2 separate regions of the Homo sapiens genome follow, and region 1 is linked to region 2. The links are contacts of gene promoters, found by promoter capture Hi-C in human tissues and cell types (Jung and others, 2019). All regions are on one chromosome and are shown on one strand. Each heading gives the region's core, a stretch centred on a gene start or on the middle of the fragment in contact. The rest is flanking DNA. Distances are from core to core; before and after follow the strand shown. Region 1 holds the start of ZBTB4 (zinc finger and BTB domain containing 4). Region 2 holds the start of ALOXE3 (arachidonate epidermal lipoxygenase 3).

Region 1 (5,763 bases), core at 2,748-5,247, 640 kb before region 2:
CTCCATGTTGGCCAGGCTGGTCTTGAACTCCTGACCTCAGGTGATCCACCTGCCTTGGCTTCCCAAAGTTCTGGGATTACAGGCATGGGCCACTGCGCCCGGCCATATTATTCTAATTTTACAGAAGAGGAAACCGAGGCTCAGAGAGGGATATACCTTACTCGAGGTCGCACAGCTTGTAAGCAGCAGTCAAGATTCGAATCCAGGCCCAGCTGACCCCAGATGCTCAATCTTTCCCTCTGCCATACTGCTAGACCTGGCCCTGAAGAGGCCTATGGCCCGCCAGCTGGTTACATAAACCACCGCACAAGGTCTCACGTGCTAAGTGCTAAATGTGTCATGTCTGACTCCACCCTTTCCCTCACTTCCACATCCAGCAGTCATCAAGTGTGGCTGAAATCGCCGCCGAGCTTGGGAATGGCTCTGGAAATCTTCCCTTCGATAGCTCAGGTCCTTGTTAACACTCACGTGGTCCAAGGTTATGGCCTCCCAGCTATCCCCTGGCCTCCAGGCTTACCTTCCTCCATCCAGCCCTCCTCCCCCTGAGGGTCAACGTCCCTAACCACAGTTCAGGACTATCACTCCTGGGCTCAAAACCTCCACTGGTCCCCACTGACTCTAGAAGAAAGTTCAAATTCTTCTACCAGGCAGTCAAGGGCTCTGGTCTAGCTCCAATCTTCCTTTTTAATCTTGCCTTGTGTTATCCTCTTCAAACACACAGTACTCAGCGTGAGCCAGGCGTGATGGCAGATACCCATAGTCCCAGCTACTCAGGAGGCTGCAGCTAGAGGATTGCTTGAGCCCAGGAGTTTGAGTCCAGCCTGGGCAATATATTGAGACCCAGTTTCTAAACAAATGAACAAAACCCCAGACACCCAGTGTGCTCTCCAGCTTCTACATGACCCACACCTTCATGCCTTTGCCTGTGCTGGCTTGTTCTGCCAGAAATGCTCTTTCCCCAAGCTTGTCAAAATCCCTCCAAAACGTTAAGATCTGACTCCAAGGCCACCTCCTTCTTGGCCCTCCCTGATCCACAGGATGAGAACGATCATTCCTTCCTCTGACTCATCAACCTTTTGTGCTCCTATGGCCAGCATCCACCTTACACAGCAGCAGAGACTCAGGTTCTCATGCCCTCAGCTGGGGATCCCTGAGCATCCGGGTCTTCTGAAATGGACTGCTGCAAATGCTAAGTTCTGCAGCAACTGGGGAGAAGAGTGTTGGAGGGAGTTGCACAGAAAGGACCATCCACTGAATGTTCCAGAAGGCAGCAGAGTACAGTAGTTAAGAGCACAAGATCTTCAACCTGATTGCCCGGGTTCAAATACAGCTTCACCTCTTACTAGCTAAGTGACTTGGGGCAGATTACTTAACTTCTCTGGACCTCAGCTGCCTCACTTGAAAAAGGGAGGTAGAGTGCCTACTTCAGGGTGTTGTTCTGAGGACAGAGTGGCCACATATAAGTGCCCTGAGGACAGGCTGGTGCACGGTCAGTGCTAAGCAAGTGTGTGCTGCCATTATTATCAGCGAAGCCCCAAGAAGGGAATTCCCAGTCCTGGGGGAGGGCTGACAGGGGCTGGCATAGGCACAGCCCCCAGACTATAGCCACTTTCCGGGTCCGTTTCCCATGTGCTTTTGGAAGATACGCAGGGCAGACAATCAGCCCCATTCTGCAGATGAGGAACTGAGCTTCCTTCAGATCAAGTGCCAGTGAGGGAATGGTAAAGACGCCAGAGCTCCTCAGCCCTGGACCATGGCTCCTTTCTCTTCACCAGACCGTCACTGTGCACCTGTTGAGCAGGCTCCCACGGCAGCCACCCCTTCCCAGCCCCCCATGCCGGAGGGCCTGTCCGCAGCACCCTCCCTTCCCCCACGTACACACATCCTTCCAGTGGGGCCGGGCACAGTAGACAGTGGTGTGCAGGCTTGGAATGCACTTGCACACACACCCCTAGAAGGGCCCAGTCCCCAAAGGTGAGGAAAACCTGTTCTGAGGAATCTGCCTAGTGAGCGAATTCTGTTCTGAGGCCCTTCCACCGTCGCAGGAGTGGGGCCCAGTGTGCGTCAGAGATACCCACAAGGGGGGCAGAGAGAGGGAGAGGGTGAAGCAGGAGGAGGCTGAAAACTTCACGTTTCTTTTTTCCATTTTAGTGACAAGAGTCACACCCAGCCTTTACATAAACATGGCCAAGGAGCCTCTCTGTCTAAGCTTACTTCCCTTGTGGCCGCCCAGCCTCTCCTCCGGGTGACCCTGACACGCTGGGCAGGCTCATGAGGGGCAAACATACAGACCCTGCAAAGATTAGCTGGGCCATCTGACAACACCCATGCCTCCCGCCGGCCTCCATGCGCTACCCTGCATTTATCTCCCGCCTTCCTCATACCAAATCCCCTCCGCAGCCCCACCGCCACTTAAGCACACAGACGGCAGGCACGCACACACAGCCTGCTTGCGGCTGGCCTCTTGGGTCTGAGGCCCACACTGCCCTTGTCACGCCACCTCCCTCCCCACATGTGTTTTCTGACCAGTTTGCCTCCCAGCTCAGCAGCCCAGACAGGCTCCTACAAACAACGTCACAAAAGAATCCTGTGGAGAATGTTGCAAACACACAACCTTCCCCTCGCTTGGCTGCCCATGATCCCATAAACACAACTGGCGCATTCCACCTCGAGCCCCTCACACCAGTGCCAACTGACCCACAGGCCCCTGAGACATACCCCGGGGTTCCTCGCTCCTCTCATGATCTTTGGGATCTGAGTTCTAGACGCGCAGCCCCCATGCAACGCGCTCATCACAGACACGCAAACCCATCCATCGCCCTCTTCACCACTGGACCACACCTCAGCAGGGCCACAGAAATGGGACCCAGACGTGACGCCTTCTGACTCAAAGGCCCACAACCGCCCCCTCCAAAAGGGCACATACACTGCATCCTGGCACCCTCCGCAACACATACAGCATGCCAGCTCTGCAGAAAACAGTTCATAAACAGGTCATAGGTGCAGCACAAGACACACATGCGAGAAAACACATGCTGTAGAAAACATACAGCCCCACATCGAACAAACTCTGCACCCAGCATGCTGTGCCCTGCTCAGAATACCCATCTGTCACCCAAAGCCACAGGGCTCGTCTTGTAACTCTGCCCCACAACACTGGACACCCTTCCTGGCTTTCTATCTCCATGGCCCAGGGAGGGCCCTACCCAGACCCCTGGCTGCCAGCAAACGGTGGTGCCCAGGAGAGGTTTACCTTGCCCCACCACACAGCACAAGACACACGATCTCCAAGACTCACAGCCACAACCCTGCCCCGACGGCGCGGCGGTTCCGGGGCCCCAGCTCGCCCTGCGCACCCCGCACACCCCAACTCTGGGGCGCTCGGCGGCCCACCCCTCCCCCTCTCTGCCTGGCTCCTACGCCATCACCCTCCCAGCAGCTTGCAGCGCTTGCCCGGGCTCACACCCGCCCCACCCCACCCCCAATCTGCCCCACGGGGGGAGGGGGCCATTAGGCTGCAGAATTAACCCTTCAAAGAGGGAGTGAGCACCTCCCCTTCCACGGCCCCAGGCGATCGCGTCCCACGGCCGCCCCTCGCTCGGACGCCATACCAGGGCCCCCTTAGTCGCCCCCCAGCGTCGTGCGCGCCCGGGGGCGGGGCCAGGCTCAGCCCCCGACCCCTGCGCCCCCAGGTCAACCCCAAAGGAGAGCGGTCTGGGCGCGGGGCGCGGTCGGGGCTCCCGCAGCGCCGGGCAGCGGAGAGGGGGCCTGGCAGTTGGCTCCGGTCCGCCCTGGCCCTGCCCAGTTCGCCCCAGGGCCCACCTGACTGCGATGGCGCCGCGTCCGCCAGGCCCGGCTCATCACCGTGGCCGCCCCCGGCCGCTCCGGTTTTGCCCGCCTCCAGCTCCGGCTCCGGCTCCAGCTCCGGCCCTGGCCCCCCCAGCGCCTGGCCCCGGCCCGGCCCCGCTGCCGCCGCCGCCGCCGCCGCTGACATCATCGGCTCCCCCCGCCCCGGTCCTACCCCCACCCCCACCCCCGGAAACAGTCCCCCCCCAGCGCCGCCGCCGCCGCCGCCGAGAGGAGGCCGGCGCAGCGCAGCCGACACCGACACAAAGCTCCGAGCGCCCGACGGCCTTCCCCAGGACTGACCCCCGCGGCATGACACTGCGCCGCGCTGGGCCACCGGGCGGGTGGACACCGAGCGGGGCGCGGGCCGGGCTGCAGCATCCCGGCAGGGGCGCAAGACCACCGACCCCCAGGGAAAGGGCTCCCTCCGCCCTTCCTCCTGCACGCCCTTCACTCAGCGGTGCACACTGCCTGAAAGCATAACACACAGGCTCTCAGGGTGCAGACATGACATGGCAGACTCATAATCAGGCCCGGTGGGACTCACAGACCCAGGGTCGGCACACTCAAAGAGGGCCAGCCCTGGACACACACACACACCCTCTCCAGGAATGCGCAGGAAAGCTCAGCAGGCCGCGGAAAAAGAAGGCCCTGGCCCTGCATACGGGGCACACACGAACGACCACCAGCGCAAATGAACACATGAAGCTGGCTGGGTACTTTGTCCCCACCAGCAGATAGATCCACATCTGTATACTTGAACATAAATGCAGAGGCCTTGGTGTCGGCCTCTGGGGACAGCATCAACAAAACACCAGGTGGAAGCACACACAGAAAAAACACATTCCTGAAACTCCACAGGGACAATCCCAAGAACTCCTCCCTGGTGCTGGAAAATTAAAAACTAAGGAGATGGAGGAGCCAGGGTTCACAGCTCCTTGCCTTAAAACCTCTCTGAGGCTGGGCGCGGTGGCTCACGCCTGTAATCCCAGCACTTTGGGAGGCCGAGGTGGGCGGATCACGAGGTCAGGAGATCGAGACCATCCTGGCTAACACGGTGAAACCCTGTCTCTACTAAAAATACAAAAAAATTAGCCGGGCGTGGTGGCGGGCGCCTGTGGTCCCAGCTACTCGGGAGGCTGAGGCAGGAGAATGGCGTGAACCTGGGAGGCGGAGCTTGCAGTGAGCCGAGATCTCGCCACTGCACTCCAGCCTGGGCGACAGAGACAGACTCCGTCTCAAAAAAAAAACAACAACAAAAAAACCTCTCTGAAACCATGCAAGATATAAATAAACAAATTAATGTAAAGCCACAGAGCTAGCCATAAAAAGAATAAAAGAATCAGACAAACTTTGGAGTCATGGAGACATAAATAGAAAAGAAGCAGAGTTGGGCTGGGCACGGTGGCTCATGCCTGTAATTCCACCACTTTGGGAGGCGGGGGGTGGTGGGGTGGATCACTTGAGGTAAGGAGTTCAAGACCAGCATGGCCAACATGGAGAAACCCCATCTCTACGAAAAATAAAAAATTAGCGGGGTGTGGTGGCACATGCCTGTAATCCCAGGTACTTGGGAGGATGAGGTAGGAGAATTGCTTGAACCCAGGAGGTGGAGGTTGCGGTGAGCCGAGATTGCACGCACCACTGCACTCCAGCCTGGGCAAGAAGAGCAAAACTCCGTCCCAAAAAAAAAAAAAAAAATTAGCCAGGTGTAGTGGCACATTCTTGTAATCCCAGCTACTTGGGAGGCTGAGGCAGGAGAATCGCTTGAATCTGGGAGGTGGAGGTTGCAGTGAGATGAGATCACACCATTGCACTCCAGCCTGGATAACAAGAGTGGAAACTTCGTCGCAAACAAAAAAAGAAAGAAAGAAAGAAAAGAAGCAGAGTTGGACTCAGCGGGAAAATAGGCGTGCT
Region 2 (5,962 bases), core at 3,462-5,961:
GATCACCTGAGGTCGGGAGTTTGAGACCAGCCTAACCAACATGAAGAAACCCCATCTCTACTAAAAATACAAAATTAGCCGGCATGGTGGCACCTGCCTGTAGTCCCAGCTACTCAGGAGGCTGAGGCAGGAGAATCGCTTGAACCCAGGAGGCAGAGGTTGCGGTGAGCCGAGATCGCGGCACTGCACTCCAGCCTGGGCGACAGGAGTGAAACTCCGTCTCAAAAAAAAAAAAAAAAAGTGATGTGCCCTGAAAAGTGTGGGCACCTGGGGAAGGGAGGGTGGCAAGGGGGGATGAATGATCGGACAGGCCCAGGAACGATGTCACCTGGGCTCCTAAGCACTCACTCACTCACTGCACACACACTCGCTGGGGGCCCAATTAACACCCAGTGGGTGGGAAAACCACGAGGAGTTCAATCATGAAAGCAGAGGCTGAGGAGTCTGGGGGCAGGGAGAGGGGAACTGGGGAGCACAAGGGGGAGACAAGGGCAGGAAGGGGGCAGGGGGCATGTAGAGAGGGAAGACTGTGGGGCAGGGAGAGGGAATGAGTCCAGAGAGGAGGGACTGGGGCAGGGAGAGGGGATACTGGGAATAGGGAGAAGGGGCAGTCTGGGAGCACGGGGAGGGGGATGGATGGGCAGAGATGTAAGATGTTCATTAGAGGGACAATGGCCTTACGCAGGGATGGCATTGAAGAGCAGCGAGATCGTCTTGGTGGCTGAGTATCGAACATTGGGCTCCATGTACATCAGGGATGGGATGTCAATTTTCATGGGGAAGCCGGGCAGGTACCGATTCCCACTGCTGGGGGTCGGGGGAGTAGAAAGACAGAAACCAGTCAGTGGGCCCTGAAGCCCAGCTGCTCAACTCCTTCCCTCTTTCCTGCCTTCCAAGTCCCTGGGTCTCTCTTACTCCCGGCTCCTCCCCTGCCCTCTCTGCTCCTGAGCTAAAATAACCTCCTCACTCTTGTCCCCTGTGCCAGACCCTTTGGGGCCATCTCCCATCCTGATGCTTGAATGAAACTGCATTGTCATAGACCCCTACCCCTCCTTCCTGGCTATCAGGACCCCATCCTCCCGACAGACCTTCCACTTGACTTCCTTTCCCCTCCTTCCCAAGCTTTAATCTTCACCTGTCACCCTGGTCTACACAAGTTGTCGTCTTTGTCAAGGCAAATTTCTTGTCTGACTCCATCTCCTGAAAGCTGTTGACGTCTACCATGCAGGGGAAGCCAGGGGCATAGATCTTCCAGCTTCCGAGGGAAAGAGGTCAGAGGTGGCAGGTCATGCTCGGGATAAACACAAGTCTTAGCTTTAAAGACACGGCTTCAGATTAAAACTTCAAAAACCACCTACTTTCTGGATGAGTGACAAGGAATTGGACATTTCTCCATGAAAGCACTGGCTTCACATAGGGTAGCATTTAAGGATGGCATTAATGCCCACACTGGGTTAGAGATGGGTTTGTGTTGAGATTAAAATCATGGCCGGTTTAGTGGGGGAGGCTGAGAAAGGACTGAGATTGGTGGATACTTCAGGTCACTTCTGATATTGGGATCTGGGTTACATCAGGGACAGTTGAGGGCTGAGTATGGATTCATTGGTGGTGTTGGGACAACTGTTACTATTGGTGTTCTCAGTTCAGATTCAGGGTCACTATTAAAGTGGGGTTAGGTCCAAATAAGAGTCCTGATCCAAGCTAGGCACCCAAGGTTGAGAATGAGGTTAGAGTTAGGAACAATCTGATTAAGACTGAGGTCAGGATAAAGATGGGGAAAGAAGTCAAATTAGGCCACCCTCACCGGTAGCATTCTTGTCGGGCCCGGAGCTCCCGTGTCCTGTGATCCAGGAGGAGGGGAAGAGAGTCCTGACAAATAGTTCTTGCTGTGGGGAATGAAAATTACTCTTGGTATAAGTCTCTTTTCCAACAACATCTTCTGCAAACCTTGCCTGAACCCCCTGACCCTTGAACCCAATCCGACAGCCACATCCCTGTGAAACACGTGGCGGTGCCCCCACGTTCTTTGTGTATTCATCAGTAGAAGGGATTCAAGACAGCTTCACCCCCAAATTATAGCAATCTTCCCAATTGTTGGCATGTTTATCTCCCCTCCAGACTATAAACTCCCTGAGGGCAGAAGTCGTCTTGTATTCCTTTTTCTTCTTTTTCTTCTTCTGTATTCCCGGCTTCTAGCATGGTGCCTGGCACCATGTGTATAAGATGCACTTTAAATGACTGATGAACAAATATATTTTGTGAAGCTATGGATGGATGTGCTGTGGAGATGGATGAGAGTTTATAGTGAGGTCTATGGAAAACTTATTACGGACCATGGGGTAATATTCATTTGCCTCACTTTGACCTAGAATATCCCTCCTTCATCCTGAGCCTCCTCCCAACACCCAGAGCAGCCCTACTGTTGCCTCTCCAGATCAGATAGCTCTGGAAACTGAAGATGCTCAAGCCCAGCATCTGCAGAAGGCCCCAGAAATTCAACAAGGAATCCTAGCAGCACCTCTCAGGGACCTCATCCACACTAGAAAAGCTAGTAGTAGGGGAGGGAATGGGGCCTCTCCAGCTAAAATCTCTGAGCAGCCAGGGCTTCTCTACCTGTTAAAATCTAATGACTCAGGGTGCAGGTTAGTTCCTCTCTGGGGTCTGGAGGAACTCACTCTGGAGAAGTGCAGAGGGAGGCTGTGGAAAGCAAAGTGCTTCCTATGTGTATGAGAGAAGGGTGCCTGCCTATATGAGTGTATGTGTCTATGTGAGTCTCCAGAAGAGTCAATACCGTCTGCAAAACCCTCGCATTTCAGGGCTTGAGAGGCTCCCTTTTTTCAGAAAACATCTACTTGGGAGCCCAGAGTTTCTGACCTCAATCTTATTCCCTATACTCTGGGGCTCTGTGAGACCCCACTCCTAATCCCAAAGGACACCTTCTGCAGTACAGTGTAGTCCTCGTCTCTGGCCCACCTGTTCCTGGCCTCAGCTCCACGGTGCAGTAGCCTTCAATCCACTGATAGCAGGGGAAGTGGGATACACTACCATCCGGTTCGGTGACACAGATGCGGCTACAGTACCAAGAGTCCTTGCGGAAGAAAGCGTAGCGCTCCTTGTGTACACGCAGCAGCAAGAGCTCACCCAGCTCCGCTGTGCAACGCACCTTGTACTTCTGTACCTGAGGGGACCAAGACAGCAAGCAGGTGAGAGGCGGGGAACTGCCAAGGCGGTCCTTGCGCCTTGCAAGATGCATCTACACCTAAGCCTATTCGGGCATACAAACCTGAGCTGCTCCCAGCCCATACCGGGCTTTTGTATGAATTAGAAAAAGCTTCCCCGGGCCGGGAGAGGTGGCTCACGCCTGTAATCCTAACACTTTGGGAGGCCGAGGCGGGTGGATCACCTGAGGTCAGGAGTTTGAGACCAGCCTGCCCGATGAAACCGCTTCTCTACTAAAAATACAAAAAATTAGTCGGGCGTCGTGGCAGGCGCCTGTAATCCCAGCTACTTGGGAGGCTGAGGCAGGAGAATCGCTTAAACCCGGGAGGTGGAGGTTGCAGTGACCTGAGATCACACCACTGCCCTCCAGCCTGGGCAACAAGAGCAAAACTCCATCTCAAAAAGAAAAGAAAAAGGTGCCCGAGCACAGTGGGCACTGCATTTCACTAGCTTCCTAGGCCGGCTGGGAACTCTTGTGGAGGCCACCTGGGGCTGGCAGAGGCAGGCAGATCCCCTCGATAAGAGGAAACCCAGGCTCAGAGAGGGGAAGCGACTTGCCCAAAGCCCACGGTCAATTATGGGAGGAGTTTAGGAGCCAGGGGAAGTCCCTCTACTCCCTGTCCAACGCTCCTTCCTCTCCACAGTCCTGCCTGGATGGAGTTCATCATCTCCAGGAAAGACAGGGACCTCAATAGGGAAGGTGAGGAGGTCAGGGCCGGTATCCTGAGTTCAGCAGGATCTCAAGAGTCCAGGAGGAATACTCCTCCCGCCTGCGGCCCCTGCCCCTCTGAGGTCGCGCTTCCCTGTCTCCTTTGTACTCACCGATCCAGGGGCGAAGTCCCTGCCCATTCGATCTAGCCGCTGCTTGGGGCTTTCACCACACGTGCCCACCAGTGTGACAGAGATGTTGTCCAGTGTGCCGGCCCTCAGGTAGGGACCAGTGGTCACACACAGGCGGTACACTGCCATGATGGGAAGGAGGAAGGGATGCCCCGGCAACGCTGGCCGCAGCAGCAGCCGGCCTGGAGGAGAAGAGCGGCACGCCGGACAGGGCTGGGTTTCTGGGCGGAGGGCTAGGGGCTGCGGGGCTGGGTAGGGCTGAGGATGGGCCCAGCTCTCTCTGGGATGTTCCTGGGCTTTCTCTCTCCGAAGCTCCCTGCTGGCGGCTCGGGCTTCCTCTCTCCGCCCACAGTCTTGCACTCTAATACTTGTTTGCTTGCCTCTGACACAGCCGGTCCCTCTGGCTGGCTCACCCAGATGGATATCAGGAGCCTGGGTTCCACTGCGGAGGGAGGGATCAGATGCTGAGATGGAGAAAAGGAGGTAACGCCTGTATAATTGGGACACTGCCCTCCGCCTGGTCAGCGGCCCGGACTGATGCCCTGGAGTGCTTGTCCGCCCACTCCCCAATGTCCCCCAAGATCTGTTCCTCCCCATTCCCAGGCAGAGATGAGCACAGGGCACCTGCATTCCTACGTGTGAATCATCCGTGTGAATCACTAAACAGTGGAGAGTTGCACTTGGTCATAAATCACACGTGACTGCAGCCACACGCAGGTGAGTCGCACACGCATTCCAGCACATGTCAAATGGTCAGGAACAGCTCCCTGTCACCCCATACACCGATCCCCCCACGCATGGCCCTCTTTGTCCCCAGCCTTTGGCACGCCCGACCTCATTCTCTGCTCTGGAGTAGGGCAGGTCAGGAAAGCGAAATACAGCGCCGGCAAACAGGGTCTGAATGCCCCGCGTGGCATTCTTTCCGCTCCAGGACCGCCCTGGGCCTGCAGGATCCTGGGCGGGAGCCCAGGTGTCCGGGATCTGGGCCACTAGGGACTGGGGAGGAACCTCTCAGAGAAGCCCATAGCCCGCAGCGGCCCCGCGCGGCCGGTTCCGGCGCCGCACTGTTCCAGCCTCTACTATGGTACAGTCCCTGCGTCGCAGCCTCGGCGGGGGCTCTAAGAACGGGAGGCAGAAAAAGCTCAATCAGCAGCAGGCGAGCTTCACCCGCTGCTTCCAAATCTGTGCCAAAATATTCTATGCTGCACAGATAAAATCCTCTGTCGGTTCTACAAGCCTGGCTTTTCCTATAGAGAACCCTCTTATAAGCAAAAAGTAAAGCTCTCGTGAAGAGCCCGGATAGCTCAGTCGGTAGAGCATCAGACTTTTAATCTGAGGGTCCAGGGTTCAAGTCCCTGTTCGGGCGGCATGTCTTTGCTTTTGGGTACCGCACTTCGCATAAAATGGTAACAAAAATAGTTACTAGTTTTTAAAGCTAGGTGATACAGAAACTTGATTTCCACAAAATACAGCAAACGACGGTGGAGGGTAATAAACATACTTTAAAACAGTACAAACGCGAGCCGTATTATCGAATTTACATTTTCTGGTAGCCACATTACAAAGAATAAAAAGCAAGCGAAATTAATTTCACGGATCTATTTTACTTACCCTAATATACCAAAATCTTATTTTAACATATAATCAACATTCTAAAAATATTAATGAAATTTTAAGTCTTTTTGTTTGTACAAAGCCTTCCTTCAAAAGAAGATGTGTATTTAGAAGCTGGCAATACATCTGAATTCATATATTTCAAGTGCTCGATAACGGTGTCTACCATATCCAACAGCAGACTTTGTTTTGTTTTCGTTTTAAGTGACGGGTGTGGAAGACACGCAAAATAGAATGTCCAGTAATGTACACAATCTTGAAAGACACCACGAGGGAGGTTCCATGGTGT

What was found. Contacts are between HindIII fragments. The study calls those that stand out against the background at their distance.
Region 1: the fragment with the promoter of ZBTB4 here is called in contact with the fragment with the promoter of ALOXE3 in region 2 in 1 of the 25 tissues and cell types used here (dorsolateral prefrontal cortex).

What each region holds. Positions count from the first base shown.
Region 1 is chr17:7,475,634-7,481,396 of GRCh38, forward strand. ZBTB4 (zinc finger and BTB domain containing 4) reads right to left here and starts at 3,998. Exons shown (of 4, transcript NM_001128833.2): 1 at 3,823-3,998. RefSeq lists silencers at 3,305-3,354, 3,615-4,074, 4,095-4,354. The HindIII fragment of the contact is 10,425 bases long and covers 1,587-5,763 here.
Region 2 is chr17:8,113,803-8,119,764 of GRCh38, forward strand. It overlaps ALOXE3 (arachidonate epidermal lipoxygenase 3), which reads right to left and starts at 4,712. Exons shown (of 16, transcript NM_021628.3): 1 at 4,684-4,712; 2 at 4,042-4,501; 3 at 2,974-3,178; 4 at 1,805-1,886; 5 at 1,136-1,255; 6 at 682-807. The coding sequence starts at 4,188. TRK-TTT3-5 (tRNA-Lys (anticodon TTT) 3-5) reads left to right here and starts at 5,353; the gene lies at 5,353-5,425. TRQ-CTG1-5 (tRNA-Gln (anticodon CTG) 1-5) reads left to right here and starts at 5,950; the gene lies at 5,950-5,962. RefSeq lists enhancers at 3,878-5,077, 4,799-4,878, 4,959-5,028, 5,179-5,278 and a silencer at 5,799-5,848. The HindIII fragment of the contact is 5,361 bases long and covers 2,227-5,962 here.